7 separate regions of the Homo sapiens genome follow, and regions 2, 3, 4, 5, 6 and 7 are each linked to region 1. The links are contacts of gene promoters, found by promoter capture Hi-C in blood cells and fetal thymus (Javierre and others, 2016). All regions are on one chromosome and are shown on one strand. Each heading gives the region's core, a stretch centred on a gene start or on the middle of the fragment in contact. The rest is flanking DNA. Distances are from core to core; before and after follow the strand shown. Region 1 holds the start of RNASEH2B (ribonuclease H2 subunit B). Region 2 overlaps DLEU2 (deleted in lymphocytic leukemia 2). Region 3 overlaps DLEU2 (deleted in lymphocytic leukemia 2). Region 4 overlaps TRIM13 (tripartite motif containing 13). Region 5 has its middle 26 kb from the start of SPRYD7. Region 6 has its middle 9.2 kb from the start of SPRYD7. Region 7 overlaps SPRYD7 (SPRY domain containing 7).

The links. The method cuts DNA at HindIII sites, captures the fragments that hold promoters and counts their contacts. A CHiCAGO score of 5 or more calls a contact.
Region 2: a fragment that was not itself captured here is called in contact with the fragment with the promoter of RNASEH2B in region 1 in 2 of 17 cell types (naive B cells and total B cells); the score reaches 8.1 in naive B cells.
Region 3: a contact is called between a fragment that was not itself captured here and the fragment with the promoter of RNASEH2B in region 1, in 17 of 17 cell types (total CD4 T cells, naive CD4 T cells, naive CD8 T cells and 14 more). The highest score is 30.4, in total CD4 T cells.
Region 4: a contact is called between a fragment that was not itself captured here and the fragment with the promoter of RNASEH2B in region 1, in 15 of 17 cell types (naive CD8 T cells, naive CD4 T cells, total CD8 T cells and 12 more). The highest score is 22.4, in naive CD8 T cells.
Region 5: a contact is called between a fragment that was not itself captured here and the fragment with the promoter of RNASEH2B in region 1, in 11 of 17 cell types (total B cells, naive B cells, naive CD4 T cells and 8 more). The highest score is 12.0, in total B cells.
Region 6: a fragment that was not itself captured here is called in contact with the fragment with the promoter of RNASEH2B in region 1 in 1 of 17 cell types (total CD8 T cells); the score reaches 5.5 in total CD8 T cells.
Region 7: a contact is called between a fragment that was not itself captured here and the fragment with the promoter of RNASEH2B in region 1, in 2 of 17 cell types (total B cells and erythroblasts). The highest score is 5.6, in total B cells.

The regions. Positions count from the first base shown.
Region 1 is chr13:50,907,970-50,912,224 of GRCh38, reverse strand. It overlaps RNASEH2B (ribonuclease H2 subunit B), which reads right to left and starts at 2,434. Exons shown (of 11, transcript NM_024570.4): 1 at 2,085-2,434. The coding sequence starts at 2,148. RNASEH2B-AS1 (RNASEH2B antisense RNA 1) reads left to right here and starts at 1,513. Exons shown (of 3, transcript NR_046552.1): 1 at 1,513-1,742. RefSeq lists silencers at 1,680-1,729, 1,940-2,179, 2,190-2,619. The HindIII fragment of the contact is 8,311 bases long and covers 1-4,255 here.
Region 2 is chr13:50,038,450-50,042,764 of GRCh38, reverse strand. All of the region lies in intron 8 of DLEU2 (deleted in lymphocytic leukemia 2), which reads left to right. Among named protein-coding and RNA genes, the nearest start is that of MIR16-1, 8.5 kb to the left of the region's middle. The HindIII fragment of the contact is 6,162 bases long and covers 1-4,315 here.
Region 3 is chr13:49,981,577-49,985,641 of GRCh38, reverse strand. It overlaps DLEU2 (deleted in lymphocytic leukemia 2), which reads left to right. Exons shown (of 14, transcript NR_152566.1): 14 at 1,888-3,093. Among named protein-coding and RNA genes, the nearest start is that of MIR3613, 13 kb to the left of the region's middle. The HindIII fragment of the contact is 1,154 bases long and covers 1,929-3,082 here.
Region 4 is chr13:49,998,944-50,002,689 of GRCh38, reverse strand. All of the region lies in intron 1 of TRIM13 (tripartite motif containing 13), which reads right to left. The region is part of intron 10 of DLEU2 (deleted in lymphocytic leukemia 2); the gene reads left to right. Among named protein-coding and RNA genes, the nearest start is that of TRIM13, 3.8 kb to the right of the region's middle. The HindIII fragment of the contact is 4,152 bases long and covers 1-3,676 here.
Region 5 is chr13:49,960,349-49,964,102 of GRCh38, reverse strand. No RefSeq gene overlaps it. Among named protein-coding and RNA genes, the nearest start is that of SPRYD7, 26 kb to the right of the region's middle. The HindIII fragment of the contact is 6,899 bases long and covers 1-3,754 here.
Region 6 is chr13:49,943,577-49,947,562 of GRCh38, reverse strand. No RefSeq gene overlaps it. Among named protein-coding and RNA genes, the nearest start is that of SPRYD7, 9.2 kb to the right of the region's middle. The HindIII fragment of the contact is 7,532 bases long and covers 1-3,986 here.
Region 7 is chr13:49,916,646-49,920,922 of GRCh38, reverse strand. The region is part of intron 4 of SPRYD7 (SPRY domain containing 7); the gene reads left to right. Among named protein-coding and RNA genes, the nearest start is that of SPRYD7, 18 kb to the left of the region's middle. The HindIII fragment of the contact is 2,530 bases long and covers 433-2,962 here.

The DNA of each region.
Region 1 (4,255 bases), core at 1,185-3,684:
AGAGCCTGCAGGTGGCGCTAAAGGCCAGAAGGAAGAATTGCAGGAGCTGGTAGCTCAAGTTTTTAACTGTTAAGAGTTCCTGCCCCCCTGACCACACAGCTCTTTCTAGCAGTTCCAACAGCTGCTCAGCCTCCCCCAATGCCTTAAAAGGTCACAGTAGATCTCAGCTCTGAACAGAAACTCAACTGAAACTCTTCCCACAACCCAGCAGTAGATATATTAAAACCTACAATTTTCAGGGATACAATCAATATTTAATTCTTTTGAGGGTTTTGTGTTTAATACAAGGACACAAACACACGTATAAAATGACGATGTCAATACTGATTAAACAGAACAACAAAATAAGAAGCTCAAATTATCATCAGCTATTGTGTATATCTGAAATAACAATAATGCACTTGATTCTGAAAGAATGATTAGAGTTCCTACTCTGAAAATCTAATTGTCTTGATGTGACGAAGTGAGAAGAAAGGATGATTTTTCTAATGAAAAGCATGTATACGGGTAGCCCTTTGCGAGATTCTGTCAAAACCCTGAATTTTGCATTAGCTGTTTTACCACCCAAACGTTTTTACCGAGGATGTGCAGCAATGGGAACTCTCATACACTGCTTGTGGGAATATAAATCAGTATAACCACTTTGGAAAACCATTTAACATTGTCAACTACAGCTCTACACACAAGTACTAGAACCAGCCATTCCACTCCAGGGTATACACCCTAGAGATATGAGTGCCCATGTCTACCAAAAGCCGCCTAAAGGAATGCTCTGAGAAGTGTAACTTGTAATAGTTGCAAACTGGAAACAACCCAAATGTCCATCCACAGTAGAGATACATAGTATGGATACTCATACAATTAAACAGAAGCAGCAATGAAAAAACTAACCAACCAACCAAACAACTGCTACAACATGAATGAATTTCACAACAAGGATGAATCTTTCAGAGTGAAAGAAGCCAGACACAAAGGGTACACTCTTATTCAAACAGGCAAAACTAATCTCTGGTGACAGAGGTCAGCATAGAGGTTCCTGGGGCTATCTAGGAACAGGCATGAGGCGTTATTGGAAACAGTCTACATCTTGAACTGGGGGATGGTTACTAGGGTGGTGTATACGTATGAAAAGTTCAGTGAGTTGCATACTTAAAATCCGTACACTTTATGTATGTTTTATTTTTAGAGGCAAAAAATATTATTGACAGCCTGTCATGTAAACATTTTCAATAACCATCATAAAACTCTAAATTCCTGGGAAAGAATATTGTTATCAGAGTATATTTACTGCCACAAACACTGCATTTGCTGAGCTAAAGTCAAAACTTAATACAGGGAACAGGAGATGTTCCTTTTTTCCAATGTTACATATATAAAAAGACCAAACCTTTCTGGCTTGCACTCCCTAGGCCAAATTCCTTTAACTGTGTCATTTAATCGGTCCTTCCTTGTGTGGCACTGGCTGTCCACTGTCCCAAGCCCTCGCATGTCCTGGATGGCCGGTCATCATCCACACGGGGGCTGAAAGGCCCGGCTCCAGCACTCCTGTGGTCATCATCCTGCTGAATCGCTTTGAACTACCCTTGGCCTAACCGCGACTCCCATCCCGCTTCCCTCCTGCCTCGCCACTGCAGGCCTGTCCCTTTGCTTTCTTAAAACTGCGCACCGTCTGAGGCCACTTCGAGCCTACTGGATCCCTGGTTCCAACCCAGTAGGATCACAGAAGCAGGGCCAGCTGCCAGGTAGGGGACACCAAGGGCAGAAACCTCCGGGGCCCGCAGCGCACCGGTGACCGCGAACCCGCGTGGCTCCCCTCAGGCTGAGTCGGCTTCCACCCTCCCACCCGAGCCACCGGGGATCAGGGCCCGGGAAACACGCTCGGTCCTTTTCGGCGCTTCCGGGTTTGAAAACCGCGGCTTGCTATGACGTGTGACCAAAATGCGGGGCCAGCTGTCCCAGAGAGAATCCCATCCCGCGCCGGGCCGGGTAGTGGGAGCCACCGGGGTGGGGGGCGGCGCGCCCGGGGTCGCGGGCCGCTCCGCCAGTTCTTGGGCCGACCCCGCCGCCCGGGCGCGCGTGTTTACCTGAAACCAGGAACACGTGCTGCCGGGCGCCAACCCCGTCCCCGCAGTCCACGCCAGCGGCCATGCCGCCCGCCTCTTCCGGGGCGCCGCAGGCTCAGCGCCGCGGGCCTCAGTCTCCCAGCCCCGCCGAAAATGGCGGGAGAAGGGTCTGTTCCGGGTGGCGCGGCGCGCTGAGGGACCGGCAGCGCCCGGGAGGAGGCCCAGGGACCGAATTTCGTTTCGTTTCCGAGACCAGCCTGCTGCTCGTGTTACGTTTTTAAATTTAGCGCCAGGCGAGGGGCTCTGAATGCCGGCCGGTGGCCGCAGGCAACGGGAAGGGGCCGCGGCCTCTCCCTCGCGGCTCCGCTAGTGGTAGGTGCTCATCGCGCGCCGCAGGGCGCCGAGTGACGCGGAGCGGGGCGGGGTCGCCGGGGCCCCGCGCTCTGTGGCTGCACCCAGCGGCCCTCCATGGTCTAGCCAGCGGGCTAGGATTGGGTCTGCGGGGTGTGTGCCCGGACAACGGGTGACGCCCGCCACACCCCCGGGGCCGGGGGACTCACCTGGAGCTAGTCCGTGTTAAGGACAATAGCAGTCACATCGGAATCCGAATGCAACTCTTAGCCATGGTCCTCAATTATTTGTGAATATATATTGGTCATCAGTTGCATTCTGTGTTGCTATTGATGTGAGAATATGTGTGCATTGTGAGCTACAAGGGATGTCCTCAATTTGGACTCCGTCCTCATCACTAAAAGAGGTGCACAGTTTTGGGCTCAGAATATGAATTTGTTGTTTTGGAGAACGCTGTATACTGAGTTAAAAACTTAGACATTTATTTAAAAAGTGATGTTTAAAAAGTTAGAGCCATGAAATTTGGGGATTTAAACTTTTAAAAATAACATTTTAATTGAAAAGTGTTGTTTGGTACATGGTTTTTAAGAAGAAAGTACATATTCCTTTCATACTTTAGAGAAAAGCACGGGCCAGGCGCAGTGGCTCAGGCCTGTAATCCCAGCACTTTGGGAGGCCGAGGCGGGCGGATCGCCTGAGGTCAGGAGCTGGAGACCAGCCTGACCAACAAGGTGAAACTCCGTCTCTACTGAAAATACAAAAATTAGCTGGGTGTGGTGGTGCACATCTGTAATCCCAGCTACTACGGAGGCTGAGGCACAAGAATCACTTGAACCCAGGAGATGGAGGTTGCAGTGAACCGAGATCCCACCACTGCACTCTGGCCTGGGCTACAGAGCTGGACTCTGTCAAAAAAAACAAAAACAAAAAAATCCACAAAAACCTATTTTTTTTTTTTTTAAAGAAAAGCATGATGTATCTCTTTTATCCCAGATCCCAGGGGTAACTGTTAACATTTCTTCTCTATTCTTGCAGAATTTTTCCATGCAAAAACAAGTTAATGTCTTATTTTTGCACAATTGAAAGAATAATATACATAACTCATGCACTTTGCTTTTCATGTTTAATCTTGAAGATAGTTAAATTTAGCAGCACTAAATTTATCTCGGCCCTCTGAAAAGGTTTTTAACTTCAAACCTGTTTCCCATGGGGTGAGACCAATACAGCTGCAGTTGATTGCAGGACACAGCTGGTGGAGAAGAGGCCTTTCTGGCTGAGGAAAGGCGCCTCTTGCCAGTTTTGGGGCAAGGAGCAGCAGATTGGTACTGCTCTGATCTTCCCTCTCCCCCAAAACGACTGTAGAAGATGCTGTGGTGTATAGCACAAATCCCCAGGCACACCATCGTCTTACTAACAGCTACAGGAGCACCCCATTATTCCTGTAGGATGGGATCCAAAACCCCCAGTGAAGGCCTAAAACCGCAAATAGTACCAAACCCTAATATACTGTTTTTTCCTTTGCATGTATATCTGTGATAAAGTTTAATTTGAAAATTAGGCCCAGTAAGAGATGAACAACAATAATAATAAAATAGAACAATTCTCACAGTATGCCAGCATCACTACTCTTGCAGCTACTAAGTGACTCATAAGGAGGGGACCTTCTGCAGTGTGGATCCGCTGGACAAAGGTAGAATTCAGGTCCTTTGCAGGACGAAGCTGGATGGTGCAAGATTTCTTCACACCACTCAGAACACTGTACAATTTAAAACTTACGAATTGTTTCTGGAATTTTTCGTGTAATATTTTTGGACCAAGTTCGACTGGGGGTAACTGACACC
Region 2 (4,315 bases), core at 1,175-3,674, 870 kb after region 1:
TCGCCATATTGGCCAGGCTGGTCTCTAGAACTCCTGACCTCGTGATTCGCCCACCTCGGCCTCCCAAAGTGCTGGAATTACATGTGTGAGCCACCAAGCCCGGCCCAGTTTTTCATACTTCTTTAAGATAGTTTTGACAGGTATATGTGCCTTAGCCTATTTGATGTCGGCAGATAGGACAGAATATTTTTATGAATCTGATTTGAGATTAGACCCCCCATCAGACCAACTTAGAATACAAACAGTGTTTAAGTGGGGGGTTAATAGGTATTGTGTGATGATCAGGACTTTGCAAATTTTGCATTGATGGCTTTGAAAGTGTTTTCTGCGTGATCAATTTAGGTGGATCCAAAACTAATGACTCCAAGAAACACTGAATTTGCTCATGTTTGTCATATACCCAAATGAACCACAGTGTTTTTGATTACTTCATCCTTGAAATTTCTACTATAATTAAGTACTTCGTTGTTTTTCACTTATTTCTATTTAGCAGCATTTTAACTAGTTCTTTGCCTCTAGCTGTTTTTGTTGTTGTTTTTGAGAGTCTCACTCGGTTGCTCAAACTGGAGTGCAGTGGTACCATCTCAGCTCACCGCAACCTCTGCCTCCCGGGTTCAAGCGATTCTCCTGCCTCAGTCTCCTGCATAGCTGGGATTACAGGCATCTGCCACCACACCCAGCTAATTTTTGTATTTTTAGTAGAGACGGTGTTTCACTGTGTTAGCCAGGCTGATCTCAAACTCCTGACCTCGTGATCCACCCACCTCGGCTCCCAAACTGCTGGGATTACAGGCGTGAGCCACCGTGCCCGGGTCACCTCTAGCTGTTTTAAACTAACAATTTCATCTTCTATATAGTATACACTACTTTTTTAATCTTCCTAACTTTTTTTTTCCTATAGTATACAATTTAAATTTCTTTCTTTGATGTCTTGTGGTCTTGTCCCAACATTTTCTATGTTGTTTAATTTTTCTTCAAATGAACTAGTCCTAATCCATTTTTCTTTCTCTTTGCCTTTATTTATGCCATTTCATCACTCCAGTTCTCCCCCAACTAATGCCTGTACATTTTTTTTAGTAAGGCAGAATTTCTCATGTGCACTGTTTCTTGACCTTAACAGTCTAATATTAACCATCCTTCCAATGGAATGAACATATGATACCTGTAGCTCATAACCTTTTTCTCTACTTTCGCACACCTGAGGTATATAACGTTTCTATCATTGTTTCTCATTTATTCATATAGGTTAACCTTTTAAATGTATTAGCAATATGAAAAAAAAGTTAAATTTAAGAAACTTCAAAACAGTAGCCTAAACATCAGGTCCCAAGGTTCAGATATTAATTTTATGCTGACAAGTTATATAGTTGACTTTTTAAATTCTTCAAATAGTTATGTATGAACCAGTTACAATATATCCTTAAGATTTATAAACATTAAAAGAATAATTATCTCAGTTTTCCAATATTGTAAAAGCAATTAACAGATACACTTTTTAAAGAAGTAATCCATATGTTTGTTATGGTATTGTTTATAAAGCATTCAATAATAAAAGGCTGATGAAATAACATGTTCAGTAGGATACTGTGCAGCTACTTAAAATAGCAAGTGAATATTTAATGAGCTAAAAAGCTGTTCATTATTGAATAAGTAAAAGATTATCAAATAGTTGAATAGATTCACCAGAATAATTCATATGCTAAACTGTTTTACTGGTTTACTCTGGGTGAGAGATAAATCTTATAGGGGTGGGAGGAATCTTCTTGATTATAAATAAGCATGTATGATTTCTGTGATGGGCAAACTTTGTTTTTTGAAAAGGAGAGAGAGAAATCCTTGAAAAATAAAAGTGATTATTTGAAGCAACCTTACATCCATATAATGATTTACTTTTGGAAACCTATAAAAGGGAATCCTACTGTGTTGAGGAACTTTAGACATGATAATGAATTAACTGTCATGGAAGAAAAATTTCAAAATCAGATAAGTTTAAAATCAGCTTCAGAGGAACAGCGTGCTTTAAGTTCTCAAAGTAATATTGAAAAGGAATTCAAGAATTACTTCTTGAGTTCGTGGTTGAGAGATTTCACTGTCATTTCCCCACTCTTCAAGCCCCCCCAGACCTCAAAAAAAGGTAAGTGTAAGAAAAGGGATATTTAAATCTCTTTTAATTTGAAACTATATTAGTAAACAAACTAAAGAAATACAAATCTGGTTTATTTTATAGTGATAAAGATTTGATAATGCAATGAAACTTCCATATACAAAAATTAAGCATTTTTCTGTTAAGTTTAATTTTTCGTAGCATAAAAGTACTATATAGACATAGAAACCTCAGGAAGAGCAAAAAAAAATTATTTAAAAATCATTTTTATCATCCAAAAGCAGTTGTTATTAGCCTTATATATACACCCTTCTAGTTGCATATTTGGATTAGTGAATTTATTTCTCAATCCAATTCGTTACTGTGCCAGGGACTAGAAAGATTATATTTCCTCTAGAGAAGAGGTTTAGTGCTATGCTTCTGGCTCAGAAATATTTTCTTTAGATTTGAGTTTTATCTAAAAATTACCACTAACTTTATATCTATTCCATAGTATTGTAATGTAAAAATGCCTAGGATTAGAATTTTTCCTCAAGATTGAGGATACAGGAAGATGCATCTTGTTTACTCTGGATTCCTCCTCTACCATATCCGCATGTCATCCCCAAGGATACCTTTTCATAGTGAAAACAATTTGAGGCAAGGGAGGTCATGAAGTATTCTGAGCAGGAGAGTAAGAAAAATAACTTCTGAAATACGTGTACTGGTCAGAATTTGCTTAAAGAGAGAAATCTGGCCGTGGTGGCTCACACCTGTAATCCCAGCACTTTGGGAGGCTGAGGCTGGCGAATCACCAGAGTTCAAGAGTTCAAGACCAGCCTGGGCAACATGGCGAGACCCCATCTCTACTAAAAATACAAAAATTAGCCGTGCATGGTGGTGCACGCCTGTAGTCCCTGCTACGTGGTGGGGGGCTGAGGCAGGAGAATTGCTTGAACCTGGGAGGTGGAGGTTGCAGTGGGCTAAGATGGCACCACTGCACTCCAGCCTGGGTGAGAGAGCAAGACCCTGCCTCAGAAAAAAAAAAAAAAAAAATCTAAGACCTGTATATCAAATTTTGAGTTTGTTTCTTCTTTTGTACCTCAATAGTTACATTTATCAAAAAGCTGAGCTGTTGTAAAATTGTGGAATTCACATTGGATATTCAAAAACATTTCTTACTATTAATGACAACCAATAGTTATGGATATTTCATTTTAAACATGGTTATAAAATGTAAACATGACACTAATAAGCTCAATAAATGTTTGGCCTGTCTAGTATAATAAATATGTTTTTGTCAGAATTTGACCCATTTATGATGTAAGCAAAAATGATATGTCTTAATCCATTTGTCTCACACACTAATTTTATAATTTAAAAGAGCAATAGTAGTTTCATTCAGAAAGACAGGTTTAAGGCCAGGTGCAGTGGCTCACACCCATAATCCCAGCATTTTGGATCACCTGAGGTCAGGAGTTCAAGACCAGCCTGGCCAAGGTGGTGAAACCCCGTCTCTACTAAAAATACAAACGTGGCAGGCGCGTGTAATCCCATCTACTTGGGAGGCTGAGACAGGAGAATCGCTTGAACCCGGGGGGCGGAGGTTGCAGTGAATCGAGATCCCACCACTGCACTCCAGCCTGCGCGACAGAGTGAGACTCCGTTTCAAAAAAAAAAAAAAAAAAAAAAAAAGTTTAGAACCAGAGAAACAGCTGGGCTAACAGAATAAACTATATTATTTTGGAAGTCTAAAAGTCTGGCTATTTTGGAAGAAGGATGTTTGCTGCCAAAACAGGCCTATGGTTCAGATTTGAAGTCAAACCCTCTGTTATGACCACTTTTGTCAGCATTTTAATGGGTGCTGGGCAAAAGCGAAACTCCGTCTCAAAATAAAATGACTCAAAGCCTCAGGTCCATAGTAGTTAAGCTGTTGTGCCATTTTTGAATTAATGATTTTTAGATGTGTTTAGATAACCTCCAAAACCGGAGGAATTTGGAGCTTTTTGTTTGTTTGTTTGTTTCGGTTTTGGGTTTTGTTTTGGTTTTTTGTTTTGTTTTGTGACAGGGTCTTGCTGTATTGGGAGTGCAGTGGCACAATCATGGCTCACTACAGCCTCGATCTCCTGGGCTCAAGTGATTTTCCCCACCCAGCCTCCTGAGTAGTTGGGACTACAGGCATGCACCACCCACACCCGGCTAATTTTTAGAATTTTTTGTTAGTGATATGGT
Region 3 (4,065 bases), core at 1,256-3,755, 930 kb after region 1:
TTCTGAACATGAGGGCAATGTTTCCCAACCTTTTGAGGTCATAGAAACTGCTCTGGACACCAGTTTAAATATACAGAATCTTGGGGGACATGGATTTTGAAGGTCTGCAGTGGGAGCCTGGGAAAAGGTATTTTAAAGTAATACCGGTTACCCTTAAATTTCTGCAAGTTCTAGTATCACTGTGCTGGCAAGTAACAAAGAGAAATAAACACAGTAGCATAAAGCCTGGCATGTAGCCTGGCTCACAAAAAAAAAAGACCTGCTTATAACCCCATTCTGGAGTCCTCACCTGCCCCTGCAGGTTTGATGCTATCTTGACACATGCTGGCTATTTTTATCTCCTAGAAAACAATCTAGGCCCCACAGATGGAGGCCCTTTGCCAAATTATAAGGTGGTGGGGGAGGAAGGGAAGAGGCTTCTTCACTCAATAATTTTTCCTTTTCTTTTTCTTTTTCTTTTTTCCTTTTTTTTTTTTTTTATGGAGTTTCACTGTTGTCGCCCAGGCTGGAGTGCAATGGCCCAATCTCAGCTCACTGCAACCTCCACCTCCCGGGTTCAAGCGATTCTCCTGCCTCAGCCTCCCGAGTAGCCAGGATTATAGGCACCCACCACCACACCCTAATTTTTTGTATTTTTAGTAGAGATGGGGTTTCACCATGTTGACCAGGCTGGTCTTGAACTCCTGACCTCAAGTGATTCACTCGCCTTGGCTTCCCAAAGCATTGGGATTATAGGCATGGGCCACCGTGCCTGGCCACTCAATATTTTTCAAAGACCAGGTTGTTAGTCTTTTTATTTTTTGAGACAGTGTCTTGCTCAGTTGCCCAGGCTGGAGTGCAGTGGTGCAGTCATAGCTCACTGCAGCTTCTAACTCCTGGGCTCAAGTGATCCACCTTCCTCAGCCTCCTGAGTAGCTGGGACTACAGGTGCATGTCACCAGGACCAGCTAATTTTTTTTTAACTTTTTTTTTTTTTTTTTTGTAGAGACAAGGTCTCACTAGGTGGTCCAGGCTGGTCTCAAACTTCTGGCCTCAAGCAATCCTCCCACCTTGGCCTCCCAAAGTGCTGGGATTATAGGCATGAGCCACTGTGCCCAGCAGTTGTTAGTTCTTTACCAGCACATGATGTAAGTCTTCCCGACACAGACAAGGTCTAGCTTGGCCCGCCAGACTGCTTCTGCCTTGTTGTCCCTCCAGCAGTGAGTGGCAGAATGATGGCAGCCAGCTTTCTCCCACAGGCTGCTCAGTCTGACTACGCATTAGTATTAGGGAAGGTGACCATACATGTTCAGGTTTGCCTGGGAAGAGTCCTGACCACACCTTTGAGCCCAGACTCTCCTCCACTTAGTCTTTCATTTTCATTTATTAATTCCCAGTTTGGATGATAAATTACATAGTCACCCCGTCTGTGAACAAAAGAGCTAGAACAAAAATACAACTCCACAAAAGCAAGAAGTGGACTGCCAACAACTTAATAACTTCCATGGATCAAGGAAATCATGCTGTGACACCACACACATCATTTCAACTCATCCTCACAGCAACCCCACAAGGGAATTTTGGAGACATGAATTTTGCAGATAAGGAAAGTAACAGGGTGAAGTGAGTTGGCCAGGGTCATCCAACTATGAGGAACAGAGGTAGGGTCAAAGATCCATCTGCATGAGCCCAGCTCCTGCTCTAGATGGGCCTACCTGCCTCCTCAGGGCATGTGGTCACCTCACCCACCAATTACTGACTGCGTTAAGAAATAGAATTTTACCAAGAAAGTTGCTTGATTTCAACATGAAAGAAATACTCTCAATATTCATATTTTTCATCTTAAATTTGAAAGTAGAAATCTGCTTTCTGCAGCTGTCTAATTCAGCTCTTGTTTCTGTAACCTAGTTTGAAAGAAGCAACTAAAGAAAGAAACTTTGAAAGAAGCTTCCAAAAGAAGCAACCAAGTCTACAAAGGCACAGTTTGACTCAAATGGATCCAACTGATTAGCAAATGGAAAATAACATGGAGGAATATATTTTGCATGACAAGCATAGCAGCTCCAAGTCATCCCTAATGAAGCCAAAAATTTAAGTGCAACCCAGAGAATGGATGGTTCAGAATCTTTTTTTTTTTTGAGATGGAGTCTCGCTCTGTCACCTAGGCTGGAGTGCGGTGGCATGATCTCGGCTCACTGCAAGCTCCGCCTCCTGGGTTCACGCCATTCTCCTGCCTCAGCCTTCCGGGTAGCTGGGACTACAGGTGCCTGCCACCACGCCCGGCTAATTTTTTGTATTTTTAGTAGAGACGGGGTTTCACCGTGTTAGCTAGGATGGTCTCAATCTCCTGACCTCGTGATCTGCCCGCCTCAGCCTCCCAAAGTGCTGGAATTACAGGCGTGAGCCACCGCGCCCGGCCCAGAATCTTTTTTAAATTTTTTATTATTATTATTTTTTCTGAGATGGAGTCCGGCTCTGTGGCCAGGCTGGAGTGCAGTGGCACAATCTCAGCTCACTGCAACCTCTGACTCCCAGGTACAAGTGATTCTCCTGCCTCAGCCTCCTGAGTAGCTGGGATAACAGGCACGTGCCACCACGCCCAGCTAATTTTTGTATTTTTAGTAGAGACGGGGTTTCACCATGTTGGCCAGGATGGTCTCGATCTGCCTACCTTGGCCTCCCAATGTACTGGGATTACAGGCGTGAGCCACCGTACCCGGCCCAGAATCTTTGCCTTTTGTTTGCATAGTTTAATCTTCTAAACCAGTTGCTTTCCCAGAAAAGGTGACTTAAAGTCATAGCCTTTGTGTTCATCACCATACTCTCCATAGTTTTACAAATTATTCAGTTTATTTTTAAAAGGGGTAATTTTTAAAATTTTTATTTTTAATTCCGAAGCATTCCTTTTAATACATTCTCTTGAGGGAAAAAAAAAATCACACATAGTGATTGTGTGTGGTAGTGATTATGTGTGGCCTAAGTGGCAATTGATCAATACCCCAATCTCAAGCCTGTACATTGTTACTGGTTGACTGGTTGGTTGCCTGGTGGGCTTTTTGTCCTTCCAGATGTTTTTCTACCTTCTGCCTTTTCCAATAAAGCTTCCATTATAGGCGTATTTTCCTTCTTCCCTGCATACCCCACAGAAGGAAAGCTGCTAAAATCTCAGAGCCGGAAAGTTCCAAGGGGGCTGCAGCAGCCCCTCTCTCCTAGTTTTTGTTCACCCTTACTAAGAGCAAGGCAGCTCAAGTCAGATTGCTGCATGTGCATTTTGACTCCATCATTGAGCAAGTTCATTTATTCACTATTCATTCAGCAACATTTGAGCACTTCTCTCTTCCTCCATGGCCACCATTCTAGCCCATGCCACCATGATTTATTGTTTCTGTCTTTGATGCTGAGCCTGTCTCCCTACAGCCACATGGTCCTTCTACACAATCATATCACTGCTCTGCTTACATCCCTTCCCCAGCTTCCCACCCACTTAGTCCAAGTCCAAGTCCCTTGGTTGGGAGCCAACAGATTCCTACAGGTCTGCCATCTCCCCAACCCATGGCCAAGCCATCTCTGACTTCTGCCTGTGCGCTCTACTCTAGCCACATCGGCCTCCTTGCTATTCCTCAAACATGCCAAACTCGCCTCTTCCTTAGCAACTTGGCATTTTTTTTTCCCTCTGCCTAGAATGTTCTTCCTCCAAAGTCTACCTGGCTCACTCCTTCCTCTCCTTCAGTTGTTCTGCTCAGATGTCACCTTCACGGGAAAGTCTTCCTGGCCATCCTATTACAAATGGTGGCCTCTCACTGCCTCACAGCACTCCCTGGTCTCCTTTCCTGCTTCATTTTTCTCCATGCCACTTATCGCCACCTGACATACTTTGTATTTCTTTGATTACTGTCTCCTCCCACTAGAATGTGAGCTCTGTACAGAAGCAATATGCTAGCAGCTATAAGAGTGTCTGGCACATGGCAGGCCCTCAGTAAATATTAGTTGAATGAATGAATGAAGAGTTTGCATGCAGCAATGGGGAGCCAGATCAGGTACGGCCTTGTAAGTCCTGGAAAAGACTTTGGGTTTTATTTTAAATAT
Region 4 (3,746 bases), core at 351-2,850, 910 kb after region 1:
CTCCATCTCAAAAAGAAAAAAAAAAAAGAGAGATCCATTAATAAATGTTTTCTTGAAACTAAGTAAGGGTCTAATTAACAACTATTAAAATCTAGGTAGAGGATGTAAGAATACTTTAATATTCTTCTTGAGTTTTCTCTGTTTGAACATTTTCACAATAAAATGGGTGGAAAAACTAAAGAGCCAATTATTAAAAAACCATATTGAGTTTAGAAAGTAAAACTTTGAAAACATTAGCTAAATATAAGCCTCATAAGAAGTTTAATCTGCTGTAGTATGGTTTGTTTTTGTTTTTGTTTTTTTGAGACAGTCTTGCTCTGTCACCCAGGCTGGAGTGCAATGGTGCGATCTCGTCTCACTGCAGCCTCCTCTTCCTGGGTTCAAGCAATTCTCCTGCCTCATCCTCCCAAGTAGCTGAGATTACAGGTGCCTGCCACCACGTCAGGCTCATTTTTATGTTTTTAATAGAGACGGGGTTTCGCCATGTTGGCCAGGCTGGACTCAAACTCCTGGCCACAAGTATCTTCCTGCCTTGGCCTCCCAAAGTGCTGGGATTACAAGCATAAGCCATCATGCCCAGCCTATGGTTTCATCTTTCATAAATTTTTTTTTTTAATGTATTACTGGAAGTCTCTGAATCCAGACCTGTGAGGAGACTGACATACTTGTCTGGCTCTCAGTCTGTAACCTCTGACAAACCACTTATACATACTAGTTTCTCTCCTCATTTGTATAGCTATTTTAAAAGGTATATGAAAAGTATTTACAAAGTTTTTATTTTAAATACTCTGTATCAATGTGTTATTACTCTTCATTCTTTTAGAGACTGTCCCGGTGACTTATATGATCAAAACAGGACAAAGTAAGATACAGAGATCAGATTTCAGATATAATCTCTAAAAATGAAAATTAATGTATTACACATAGCACCTCTGGCATATATATGATCAAAACAGGACAAAGTAAGAAATATCAGATTTCAATACCTCTAAAAATGAAAATTAATATATTACATATAGTATCTAAAATAATTGTTATGTGGCTCTTGCAAACAATATAAAAGTTACCTATGTGTCCATATAAGACAGTAAGTAACCAACCTTTTCTGGCATTATCCTAGAATAAACAGTAGTTAAAATTTCCAAGATATTTCTAGCAGAGATCCTGACAAGGCAAAATAGAGCTAGTACAGAATGTTCACTAGCTTGGTAAGTTCACTTACTCAGAAAGTTCACAAAGGGTTGTCAGACTAAGGTGAAATTCTCAGAAATATAAACCAGGTCACTCATTACCTCGCTAGTTCAGAGCACTAAGAAAAACTTTTTCCTTTTCCTTCATTCTCTTCTCCATACCATAGTTTAGCCTGGACTCTTTCCTGCCTTTTTTTTTTTTTTTTTTGGGACAGAGTTTTGCTCTTGTCACCCAGGCTGGAGTGCAATGGTGTGATCTTGGCTCACTGGAACCTCCGCCTCCTGGGTTCAAGTGATTCTCCTGCCTTAGCCTCCCAAGTAGCTGGTATTACAGGCACTTGCCACCATGCCCAGCTAATTTTTTGTATTTTTAGTAGAGACAGGGTTTTACCATTTTGGCCAGGCTGGTCTCGAGCTCCTGACCTCAGGTGATCCGCCCACCTCAGCCTCCCAAAGTGCTGCGATTACAGGCCTGAGCCACTGCACCCGGCCAGGTGCTGTTATTCTAGAAGGTATGATAAATAGTTTATAAAAGACACATAAAAGTAAGTTTCAGAGATCTGCTCATGTCTATAGTTAACACCACTGTACTGTACACTTAGAAATCTGTGTAGAGGATAGGTCTCATGTTAAATGTTCTTACCACAATTAAAACCATAAAATATTGACACCATACTGAAACCGAAGTTATCCATGCAACTAGCTTTTGTGTCTTCTTAAATTATAAAATTAGTTTTTATTATAGAAAATTCAGAAAATAGAGAGAAAAAGCCACCCATAATCACATCAGCAAGAAATCACCACTACTATTATTTTGGTGTCTTTATTCCAATCCCATGTGTCCGTGCATGTGCACACATTTTAACAGAACTGGTAGCATAATACAATTTTGTATCCTATCCCCTTATTTTATTACATGCCTTTCCCCCATCATGATATGTTCTAGAAAAACATGACAGTCCATGTTGTGGATATGCTTTCTTATTGCTCATTTATGGGTTTGTTCTTGTTGCTGTGTTGTTTTGTTTGTGGGTTGTTGTGTTTTTTTGGTATTGTAACATTTAGGTAAACACCTTATAGAGAAAAGTCTTGCTCCACAGCTCTAATTACTTCCTTAGACAATTCCTTTAAATGTACTTCTGGGTCAAACAGTAAGGACATTTTTAAGGCTGTTGAAAAGATGACTAGGTTTCTCTCTAGAAAGGGTTTATATCACTTTATGAACTCTAACCAATGATGTATTAGAGTGGTCCACCTCTCTATGCAGTTCCTAACCTTAAATAAAACCATAGTTTTATAGGACTTAGTAAAAAACAATAAGACACACTTGTTACCATACCTACCCGAGTTTAAAATATAAAAGTTTAAGGCAGTTAACATTAGTCTGCATCTGTGTCTTACCAATATATATGTATAGGCAATAAATGGTAATAAAAGTTATGGGGTAGGAATAGAAATACTGGGCTTAAAAGCATCTTAGAAATCATCTAAACACCTAATTTTAGGAGTCAAAAAAACTAAGACACCCCCAGCACTCAAGAAGTGGAGACTCATCAGTTGTACACAGCAAACTAGGCATCACAGCCTGAGTTTTCTAATTCTTAGACCTTAGCAATATCTAGAAAGGGACTCAAGAACTCAGTATTCTTATTCATAAAATGAAGGGGTTTAATCATAAGCTCTCTAAAATCCCTTCTAAAATTTTGCAGTTTTTACAAACTAGGTTTAACAGGCTCTCTAGTGAAGGGGAAAGCACAGAACCTGCTTTTGAGTACCTGTGTTCAAGCACCAGTTTTATCCTTCATAAAATTAGGATTTTTATATCTGGGAATGGTGCCACACACTTGTAGTCCCAGCTACTCTGAAGGCTGAAGCAGGAGGATCACTTGAGCCCAGTTCAAGACCAGCCTGGGGAACACAGTTGAGAATCCCATCTCTTGGAAAAAAATTTAAAAATGATTTTTATAGTATTTACCTCATAATGAAATGGCTCCATTGCCTGGGGGATACACCCGTGGTTGTCTCGAGCCAAGAAAGAATTCAGGACATGGACACACACAAGGAGTGGGTTTAGGAGCGGAAAATTTAATAGGGAAAGGTTCCTCACGCTGAGAAATATCACCCAAGAGAGGGTCTCCGGGTTTGGGGTGAAACGCAATCGATTTTGTACAGAGGCTTGAGGAGGTGGTGATTTACATAGGGCCCAGGGGACTGGTTTGACCAGGTGAATCATTTACATAGCCCGTCTAAAGACTGGCCCTCCCACCCTAATTTTTTGTTATGCAAATGTAGCTTCTACCTGGGGCCGCCATGACACCTGCACCCGTGGTTTTACCTAGTGATCGCCAAGACGCCCACATAGGGTGACAAGGAAAAGGGAGCGGCCCAGACGCCCACATAGGGTGACAAGGAAAAGGGAGTGAGAAACCCCATATTGAATGTACCTGGCTTCCAGATACAGCAGGCTACATTTACATATAAAAGCTTCTAGCCTGCATATTTTTGCTTGCAGCTTGACTTTTCAGGCTTTCTGTTAGAAAATAAATGGTTTGGGGG
Region 5 (3,754 bases), core at 495-2,994, 950 kb after region 1:
GTTAGAAACCAGGTCTTTCTATGTTGCTCAGGCTGATCTTGAACTCCTGGGCTCAAATGATCCTCCTACCTCAGCCTTTTGAGTAGTCAGGATTATAGGTGTGAGCCACCATGCCTGACCTCTAGTAACTCTAGTAAGTTGGGTACTATCAGTCCTCTAACTGTTCTCCTCCTTTATTGTTGAGTTGGCTATTCTATGTCTTTGCCTCTTCACATAAACTTTAGAATCAGTTTATCAACATCAACTCCTGGGCTCAAGTGATCCTCCCACCTCAGACTTTAGAGTAGTCGGGATTATAGGTGTGAGCCACCATGCGGGACCTCTAGTAAGTCTAGTAAGTTGGGTACTATCAGTCCTCTAACTCTTCTCCTTTATTGTTGAGTTAGCTATTCTGTGTCTTTGCCTCTTCACATAAACTTTAGAATTAGTTTATCAACATCCACAAAGTAACTTGACTGGATTTTGATTGGGATTGCATTGAATCTATAGATCCAGTTCAGAACTGACATCTCAACAACACTGGGTCTTCCTATCCATGAACATGGACTATATCTCCATTTATTTAAGTCTTCTTTGATATTTTTCATCAGAGTTTTGTAGTTTTTCTTATATAGATCTTCCACATATTTTGTTAAGATTTATACCTATTTCTTTTCAGAAGGATATAAATGGTATTGTGTTTTTAATTTCAAATTCTGCTTGTTCATTGCTTACAGTGTATCAGAAGGCAATTGGCTTTTGTACATTAACTTTGTATCCTACAACCCTCTATAATTGCTTATTAGTTCAAGGAGGGTTGTTTGTTGATTCTTTTGGATTTCTACAATCATGTCATCTGCAAACAAAGATAATTTTACTTCTTCCTTCCCAATCTATATGCCTTTTATTTCTTTTTCTTGTGTTCTTGCATTAGCTAGGACTTCCAGTATGATGTTGAAAAGCAGTGGTGAGAAGGGACATATTTGCAATGTCCCTGATAGTGTGAGAAAATCTTCAAGTTTCTCACCATGAAGTATAATGTTAGCTGTAGGTTTTTTGGCAGATGTTCTTCATCAAGTTGAGCAAGTTCATCTCTATTCTCAATTTATTGTGAGTTTTTCCAATCATGAAATGTTTTTTTTTTGTCAAATGCTTTTTCTGCATCTATTTATATGACCATGTGATTTTTCTTCTTTAGCCTGTTGTTGTGATGGATTACATTAATTGATTTTCAAATGTTGAACTAGCCTTGCCTACCTTGGATAAATTCCACTTGACCATGATGTGTAATTCTTTCTTTACATTGTTGGATTCAACTTGCTAGTATTTTGTTCAGGATTTTTGAATCTATGTTCATGAGAGATATTACTCTATTGTTTTCTTTTCTTGTATTTTTTTTTTTCTGAGACAAGGACTCACTCTGCTGCCTAAACTAGAGTGCAGTGGCATGATCATAGCTCCCTGCAGGGTTGATCTCCTGGGCTCAAGTGATCCTCCCACTTCAGCTTTCCGAGTAGCTGGGACTACAGGTGTGTGCCACCATACCAGCTACTTTTTTTTTTTTTTTAAAGTAGAGATGAGGTCTTGCTATGTTGCCCAAGCTGGTCTTGAACTCCTGAACTCAAGTGATCCTCCCACCATAGCCTCCCAAAGTGTGGGATTACAGGTGTGAGCCACTGCACCCGGCTCTTGTAATGTCTTTGTCTAATTTGAATATTAGGGTAATGCCAGCCTCATAGAATGATTTAGGAAGTATCCCCTCTGCTTCTGTCTTCTGGAACAGATTGTATAGGATTGGTATAATTTCTTCCTTAAATGTTTGATAGAATTCACTAATGAATCCATGTGAGTCTGGTGATTTCTGTTTTGGAAGTTTATTAGTTATTAATCCAATTTTTTTAATCAATATAGGTTTATTAAAAGTATTGATTTCTTTTTGTGTTAATTTTGGCAGATTGTGTCTTTAAGTAGGTTATCAAATGTGTGGACATAGAGTTATTAATAATATTCCTTTATTATTCTTTTAGTGTCCATGGGATCTGTAGTGATGCTTCTCTTTCACTTCTGATATTAGTAATTGTGTCTTCTCTTTTTCTTAGTAAGCCTGGCTAGAGGTTTATCAACTATATTGATTTTTTTTAAACTAGATTTTGGTCGTGTTATTTTTCTCTATTGGTTTTCTGCTTCCAGTTTCATTGATTTCTGCTATAATTTTCATTTATTTTATTCTGCTTATTTGGATTTAATTTGCTCTTCTTTTTCTAGTTTCCTAAGGCAGAATATTGGATTAATTATTTTATTTTACTTTTTTCTTCGATGGCATGGTGGAGATGGCTGGTGTTGTATGAACTCAGATTCATGACAACTGAAGAAAGTTGCACCTTGGCCTTCTCTGAGCTAAAAGCTGAAAGCTGGATTAATGATTTTAAATCTTCTTTTCTAATATATGTATTCAATACTATAAATTTCTAAGCACTGCTTTTGCTGTATCTTAGACATTTTGATAAGTTATATTTTCATTTATTTCAAATATTTTTAACTCTCTTCATCAGACTTTTTCTTTCACTCATATATTACTTAGACGTATGTTGTTTAATCTGGGAGGCTGAGACAGGTGGATCACGAGGTCAGGAGATCGAGACCATCCTGGCTAACACGGTGAAACCCCGTCTCTACTAAAAAATACAAAAAAATTAGCCAGGCATGGTGGCGGGCGCCTGTAGTCCCAGATACTCAGGAGGCTGAGGCAGGAGAATGACGTGAACCCAGGAGGTGGAGCTTGCAGTGAGCCAAGATCGCACCACTGCACTCCAGCCTGGGTGACAGGGTGAGACTCTGTCTCAAAAAAAAAAAAAAAAATAGAAGTATGTTGTTTAATCTCCAGGTATTTGTGATTTTCAGCTATCTTTCTGATATCAATTTCTAGTTTAATTTCATGAGGTCTGAAAGCAGACACTATATGACTTCTTTTATATTTGTTGAGGTGTGTTTTATGGCCCAGAATGTGATCTGTCTTGGTGAATGCTCCATGTGATTTTGAGAAGAATTGTAATCTGCTGCCTGCTGCTGGATGAAATATTCTGTAGATGTCAATTATATACAGTTGATTGATAGTGTTGTTGAATTCAACTGTGTCCTTACTGGTTTTCTGCCTGCTGACTGTGTCCATTTCTGTTAGAGGAGTGTTAAAGTCTCCAACTATAATAGTAGATTCACCCAGGTCTTCTTGCAGTTTTATCAGTTTTTCCCTTACATATTTGGATGCCCTGCTGTTAGGTGAATACACATTAAGAATTATTGTGTCAGCGGGGTGCAGCGGCTCATGCCTGTAATCCCAGCACTTTGGGAGGCTGAGGCAGGCAGATCACCTGAGGTCAGAAGTTCAAGACCAGCCTAGCCCACATGGTGAAACCCAATTTTTACTAAAAACTACAAAAAATTAGCCAGGTGTGGTGGCAGGCGCCTGTAATCCCAGCTACTCAGGAGGCTGATACAGAATTGCTTGAACCCTGGAGGCAGAGGTTGCAGTGAGCCGAGATTGTGCCATTATACCATTGTACTTCAGCCTGGGTGACAGAGAAAAACTCTATCTCAAAAAAAAAAAAAAAAAAAGAATGATTATGTCTTCTTGGGGTATTGAATGCTGTTTCATTATGTAATTTCCCTCCTTATCCCTGATATCTGTCCTTGCTCTGAAGTTTGCTCTGCCTAAAATTAATATAGCTACTTCCACTTTCTCTTAATTAGTATAGGCATGGTATATCTTTCTTCATCC
Region 6 (3,986 bases), core at 705-3,204, 960 kb after region 1:
ATCATGTAGAAAAAAATTTTCTGATTGGCAATTGGTTGCAAGAGTTACTATGAATAGAAAGAACTGTCTGGGTTACATAAGAGGTTGTGGAGACCAAAGTTTTATCATGCAGATGAAGCCTCCAGGTAGCAGGTTTCAGAATAGATTGTAAATGTTTCTTATCAGACTTAAGGTCTGTGTCGATGTTAATGCTGGTCAGCTTTTCCTGAATTCCAAAAAGGAGAAGGGCATAATGATGCATGTCTGATCCCCCTCTTCCCATCATGGCCTGAACCAGTTTTTCAGGCTAACTTTGGAGTGCTCTGGCTGAGAAGAGGGAGTCCATTCAGACAGCTGGGGGAAGAAGGGGTCTTAGAATTTTATTTTTGATTTACACATTTAAAGATTTTTATAAACTTAAAATACTGAAGTGGGTGATTTATACATTTGAAATGAACATGGACCATGTTAGCTAACTCTGTAGGAATCCTTAAAACAAATAAAATACTAAAAAAAAAAAAAAACCAAAGATCTTGAGGTCATAAAACAATTTTTTTCTTTTTTTTTTTGAGACGGAGTCTCGCTCTGTCACCCAGGCTGGAGTGCAGTGGCACCATCTCGGCTCACTGCAACCTCTGCCTCCTGGGTTCACACCATTCTCCTGCCTCAGTCTCCCAAGTAGCTGGGACTACAGGCGTGTGCCACCACACCCGGCTAATTTTTTGTATATTTAGTAGAGATGGGGTTTCACTATATTGGCCAGGATGGTCTCGATCTCCTGACCTCGTGATCTACCTGCCTCGGCCTCCCAAAGTGCTAGGATTACAGGCGTGAGCCACCGCACCTGGCTGGCTTTACTACTGGCTTTTACAAAAGTAACTATAAAATGAATAGTCAATAGAAAAACTCACAGTGGTATTTCCAACCATAAATCATCCATACAGGTATTTTCAAAATCTTGGTATGATTTCTGACTATCCCTATTTACAAAGATTAAACTAAGAATGATTATTCTTTGTAGTCAAAATCTTTGTTAATTCAAGTTATAAAAAGTCTTGTATAATTTTCAACAAGGGTGGCAAAACAATCGAACAGGGGAAAGAATAGTCCTTTCAACAACTGGTGCAGAGATGATTGGATATCTATGTGCAAAAGAATGAAGTTGAACTCCTTCACACCATATGCAAAAATTAACTCAAAATGTACCAAAGACTTAACTGTAAGAACTAAAAGCATGTAACTCCTAGAAGAAAACAGAGGAGTAAATCTTTCTAATCTTGGATTAAATAATGGTTTCTTAGATATAACACTGATTAGTCAGGGTTCTCCAAAGAAAAAAACCAATAAAATACATACAGACATATAAGAGGAGATTTACTATGGGAATTGGCTCACTCAATTATGAAGACTGAGAAGTCCCACAATATGCTGTGTGCAATCTGGAGACCTAGGAAAGCTGGTGGTGTAATTCAGTTCCAGTCTGAAAACCCGAGAACCAGGGGAGTCACTGGTGTGGCTTCTAATCCAAGCCCTAAGGCCTGAGCCCTGAGGAGGGGGAGCATGCTGGTGTAAGTCTCCAAGGTCAAAGGCCCAAGTCAGGAGCACTGATGGCTGAGGGAAGATGATGGCATACCAGAAGGGGGAAAAGGAATTTGCTCTTCTCTCACCTTTTTGTTCTATTTGAGCCCTCAATGTATTGAATAATGCCTACTCATATGGGTGAGGGCACATCAACTTTCTCAGTTTACTGATTTTTTTTTTTTTTGACAGAGTCTCACTATGTCACCCAGGCTGGAGGGCAGTGGAGTGATCTCACCTCACTGCAAACTCCACCTCCCAGGTTCAAGTAATTCTCCTGCCTCAGCCTCCCGAGTAGCTGGGATTACAGGCATGCACCACCATGTCCAGCAAATTTTTTTGTATTTTTAGTAGAGACAGGGTCTCGCCATGTTGGCCAGGCTGGTCTTGAACTCCTGGCCTCAAGTGATCCACCTGCCTCAGCCTCCCAAAGTGCTGGGATTACAGGCATCCACCACCACATCCAGCTATTTTTTTTTTTTTTGGTATTTTTAATAGAGACAGGGTCTCGCCATGTTGGCCAGGCTGGTCTTGAACTCCTGGCCTCAAGTGATCCACCTGCCTCAGCCTCCCAAAGTGCTGAGATTACAGGTGTGAGCCACCATGCCTGGCTCAGTCAACTGATTTAAATGCTGATCTTTCATTTAAACACTCTCACAGAAATACCCAGAAATAATGTTTACCAGCTATGGGGCATCCCTTAACCCAGTCAAGTTGGCACATAAAACTAACCATCACAAGTACCAAAAGCACAGGTGACAAAAAAAAAACAGATAAATAAATCTCTGTCAAAATTAATGTTTGTGCTTCAAAGGCAAGAAAGTAAAAAAACACCTCATGGAATGGGAGAAAATATTTGCAAATCATTTATCTGATAAGTGGCTTATATCTAGAATATATCAAGACTCTTACAACTCAAGAACAACAAAAACAAAAATATCCCAATTTAAAAATGGACAAAGGATCTGAATAGGTATTGCTCCAAAAAAGATATACAAATCGCCACTAAGCACAGGAAAACATGCTCAGCACTGTGTGTCAATAGGGAAATGCAAATCAAAAAGACAATGAAATAACACTTCATACCTACCAGGATGGCTAAAATAAAAAAGACAGACGATAACAAGTGCTGACAAGAATGTAGAGAAATTAGAACTCTTGTACATTGCTAGTGGGATTGTAAAATGGCGCAGCCACTTTGAAAAAGTTTGTCAGTTCTTCAAACAATAGAGTCATTATTCGATCCAGCAATTTTGCTTCTAGATATACAATGAAGAGAATTTAAAACATATGTTCACTCAAAAACCTTGCAGCATTACTCATAATTGCCAAATAGCAACAACCCAAATGTCCATCAATAAATATATGGATAAACAAAATATGGTATATCCATATGGTAGAATATTATTTAACCATAAAAAGGAATAAAGTATTAGGAAGGAATAGATACTATAACATGGATGAACCCTGAAAACGTCATATTAAGTGAAAGAAGTTAGATAATGAAAAAGACCAAATACTGTACAATTCCAATTATATGAAATGTTCAGAATAGGTAAACCCACAGAGTCAGAAAGTAACTTAGTGGTTTTCAGGGGCTGGAGTAGGGAGGAATGGAAAGTAGCTGCTAGTAATATTAAGTTTATTTTTGGGGCGATGGCAATTGTACAACTCAGTGATATTCTATAAACCAATGGTTCATTCTATAACCATTAAACATATACTTTAAAAGGTTGAATTCTATGATATGTGAATTATATCTCAATAAAACTGTTATTTTTAAAAAATCTGTGGCTGGGCACGGTGGCTCATGCCTGTAATTCCAGCACTTTGGGAGGCTGAGGCAGGAGGATCACTTGAGGCCAGGAGTTAAAGACCAGCCTAGGCAACAAAATGAGACCCCCCCATCTCTACAAAAAATTTAAAAAATTAGCCAGGCGTGGTGGCAGGCACCTTAGTCCCAGCTACTTGGGAGGCTGAGGCAGGATGACAGCTTGAGTCCAGGAGTTCAAAGTTGCAGTGAGTTATGACTGTACCACTGCACTCCAGCCTGGGTGACAAAGTGAGACCCTATCTCTTAAAAAAAAAATTGTTTATAGAATTCCTTTATACGGCAACCTGCCCTAGTGCATTTAACGTGGAAATGTTTTTCTAAGAATTCAGTTTACATACTACTTTCTGGGTTGTGGATGAAATGAGGTGTAATTAGAATGTATTTACTTGACCGGGTGTGTTGGCTCACGCCTGTGATCCCAGCACTTTGGGAGGCCAAGGCGGGTGGATCACGAGGTCAAGAGATCGAGACCATCCTGGCCAACATGGTGAAACCCCGTCTCTACTAAAAATACAAAAATTAGCTGGTCGTGGTGGCATGCACCTGTAGTCTCAGCTACTCAAGAGGCTGAGATGGGAGAATCACTTGAACCTGG
Region 7 (4,277 bases), core at 448-2,947, 990 kb after region 1:
GTGACACGATCTCAGCTCACTGCAGCCTCCGCCTCCTGGGTTCAAGCGATTCTCCTGCCTCAGCCTCCCGAGTAACTGGGATTACAGGTGCCTGCCACCACGCCTGGCTACTTTTTGTATTTTTAGTAGAGATGGGGTTTCACCATGTTGGCCAGGCTGGTCTTAAACTCCTGACCTCAGATGATCCACCCACCTCAACCTCCCAAAGTGCTGGGATTACAGGTATAAGTCACCGTGCCCAGCCATAAGGACCTTTTTATATGGATTGTAGTCGGTAGGATATTACAATCCCACTTTGCAGGATTAAGGATAGTTTCTGTTCCCCATGTATTAAAATAAACTTGCTAAATACAATGATTACACTTAAATATGCAATAACCGTACTCCCTTTTTCAACATGTAGTTTTATGTTTTAGAAAGTTTCAAAAAGCTTTACTGAATTTAGAAAACTTTTTCTGCAAGTCATTGGGAATGATTGCATGGCCAGGAAACATAATTATAAATAATATTTTGGAATTAGAGATGGGAATTTTATGTAGACTGTACATTAATAACCCTTACAAAATTCCTTAAATGTTAATGCTCTTCTGAGGGAAATAGTGACTTAGAATTTTAATTTTAACTTTAATTTTTTGTTTTTTTGTTTTGTTTTGTTTTGTTTTGTTTTGTTTTGCGACAGAGTCTTGCTGTGTCCCCCAGGCTGGAGTGCAGTGGCCCGATCACAGCTCACTGCAGCCTCAAACTCCTGGGTTCAAGCAATCCTCCCACCTCAGCCACCCCAGTAGCTGGGACTACAAGTGTGCACCACTATTGGGATTACAGGCATGAACCACTGCATCCGGCCTACCTTAATTTTTATTATAGAAAATTCCAAACATGTACAGAAGTAAAAAGAATAGTATAATAAACCCTCATATACCCATCAGCCAGCTTCAAACAATTATCAACTTGTAACCAATCGGGTTTCATCTACACCCCCCCACCCCCAATGCTGCTATTGTTCTTCACTTACCCTCCTTGGGTTATTTTGAGGCAAATGCCAGGTAATATATAATTTTATTCATAAATGTTTTATTTGTATCTCGAAAAAAAGGTCTCTTTCTTTTTTTTTTTTTAGAAAAACATAACCACAATGTCTTTATCAATCCATTCTGCTTTATTTTTTATACTATCAACTTTTTTTTTTTTTTTTTTTTGAGACAGAGTCTCACTCTGTCACCCAGACTGGAGTGCAGTGTTGTGATCTTGGCTCACTGCTGCCTCCGCCTCCTGGGTTCAAGATATTCTCGTGCCTCAGCCTCCAGAGTAGCTGGGATTACAGGTGTGTATCACCACACCCAGCTAACTTTTGGGGTTTTTTTGTATTGTTTTGTTTTTTTTGAGACAGAGTCTCATTCCATCGCCAGACTGGAGTGCAGTGGCACGATCTTGGCTCACTGAAACCTCCGCCTCCCAGGTTCAAGCGATTCTCCTGCCTCAGCCTCCCGAGTAGATGGGACTACAAGCACGCACCACCACACCCAGCTAATTTTTGTATTTTTAGTAGAGATGGGGTTTCACCATGTTGGCCAGGATGGTCTTGATCTCTTGACCTTCTGTTCTGCCCGCCTCGGCCTTCCAAAGTGCTGGGATTATAGGTGTGAGCACCTGGCCAACTTTTATATTTTTACTAGAGATGGGGTTTCACCATGTTGGCCAGGCTGATCTCGAACTCCTGAGCTCAAGTGATCTGCCCACCTCGGCCTCCCAAAGTGCTGAGATTATAGGCATGAGCCACCGTGTCCAGCCTATTTTGTATTATCAACTTTAAGTAAACAGGTATATGATTTTTCTGCCTTTGGTTTTGTAAGTCTAAAAATATTTTCTCATTTAAGTTCTTAAATTTGGGTTATAATAAGAACTAATTAGGACTGGCGTGGTGGCTCACACCTATAATCCCAACACTTTGGGAGGCCGAAGCCGGTGGATCACTTGATGTCAGGAGTTTGAGACCAGCCTGGCCAACATGGTGAAACCCCATCTCTACTAAAAATACAAAAAATTAGCCAGACGTGGTAGCGCACTCCTGTAATCCCAGTTACATGGGAGGCTGAGACAGGAAAATCACTTGAACCCAGGAGATGGAGGTTGCAGTGAGCCGAGATCATGCCATTGCACTCCAGCCTGGGCGACAGAGCAAGACTTAGTCTCCACAAAAAAAAATAAAATAAAATAAAATTAAAAAAGAAAGAAAAATAACTAATTAGGCCAGGCACGGTGGCTCATGCCTGTAATCCCAGCAGTTTGGGAGGCCAAGACAGGTGGGTCACTTGAGGTCTGGAGTTCAAGACTAGCCTGGCCAACATGGTGAAACCGTGTGTGGTGGCACACACCTGTAATCGCAACTACTCAGGAGGGTGAGGCGGAGAATCACTTGAACCCAGGAGGCAGAGGTTGCAGTGAGCCGAGATCACACCACTGTGCTCCAGCCTGGGTGACAGAGCAAGACTCCATCTCAAAAAAAAGAAAAAAAAAAAAAAGAACTAATTTAATTACATTTGTTGTAGTTTACTATAAAAGCAGCACTGGTGCAATGACTCATGCCTGTAATCCCAGCACTTTGGGAGGCTGAGGTAAGAGTTGCTCGAGTCCAGGAGTTGAAGACCAGCCTTGAGCAACATAGTGAGAACACGTCTCGACAAAAAATTTTAAAATTATCCAGGTGTGGTTGTACGTGCCTGTAGTCCCAGCTACTTGAGAGGCTGAGCTGAGAGGATCTCTTGAGCCGGGGAGGTCAAGTCTCCTGTGAGCAGTGATCATCGTGCCGCTGCACTCCAGCCTTGGCACCAGAGTAAGACCCTGTCTCAAAAGCAAAATAAAATTAAAATACTAAAATAAAAATAGCAGTATCAATGATGACAAACTGGGATGTCAGAATTATACAATAACAAATATAAATAATAATATGATAATAGCCAAAGCTTGTGATTACCTTTTAGTTTAAGGTTTTCATTAGCCTTCTTTTCTCCTAAAATTACTTTTCAGTCATTTTACCTTCTGTGTCCTTGCATGTAAATGTGTGTTTTAAAACTCAATTTAGTGTTGCATATTGGGTAAGCCTAAAAGCAATTCCTTTATTTACTTGAGTAAATGGAAATTTAGCTTGATATTTGAAATAGGTTAGCCTGAGAAATAAAATAAATATCAGTAGAGTGACAGTTATACAAGTTAACTGTAGCAAATAAGTTTAATGCTCTAAACTGTTTCTTTTATTCAGCATTATTTGTAATGTACTAAGGTTATAGATACTAAATTATATTTCATAAATTGAACTCATAAATCAGTCCAATTAAACCAAGTGTTTTAATAGCCTGATCCTATCAAAGATAAACATAAAACTTAAATCCCTTTACTCTTTTGTCTTCCATCCCTAATCCTTGATCAATCCAATCATTCATTTTGTCTCTTCTTACACTCAGCCTGTAGAAAGAAAAAGACTGCATAACACTGAAGAAGTGTGGTTACAAAGTTACGACTTCCTGGCTGGGCGCAGTAGCTCACGCCTGTAATCCCAGCACTTTGGGAGGCTGAGGCAGGCGGATCACGAGGTCAGGAGATTGAGACCATCCTGGCTAACAGGGTGAAACCCCGTCTCTACTAAAAATACAAAAAATTAGCTGGGTGTGGTGGCGGGTGCCTGTGGTCCCAGCTACTTGGGAGGCTGAGGCAAGAGAATAGCGTGAACCGGGGAGGCGGAGCTTGCAGTGAGCCGAGATCATGCCACTGCACTCCAGCCTGGGTGACAGAGCGAGACTCTGTCTCAAAAAAGAAAACAACAAAACAAAACAAAAAAAAACAAAGTTATGACTTCTAGCCTAATCTGAGCTCTCAATAATTTTCAGCAATTCTTTGTGCATGTCTATGCATTCTGTGCTTCTTGCATTCTCTATTCATCCTCTGAAAATGCCTTGCCTTCTACCTTACAAAAAAAACAGGCAATCACAAGTGAACTCCAGCTTCCCTCTCTTCAGGTCCAATCCTGCCTTCTTTCCATCTCATCCCAGAAGTGGTACTCTGCATGTTGCAAACACTCTATCTGTAGTCTGGATTCCAAACTCCCCAAATCTGGAACGTCACTTTGTCAGTTATTTCATCGATATCTCATGTCATGGGCCTCCCTCTTCAGTGCTTATAAACATTCTAAGCCCCATCCCAAACGCCCTTCTTTGGGCATGCATCCCTCACTAGTCCTGTGTTTCCCCTTCCCTGGATGGCCACATTTCTTCTAGAATAACCTA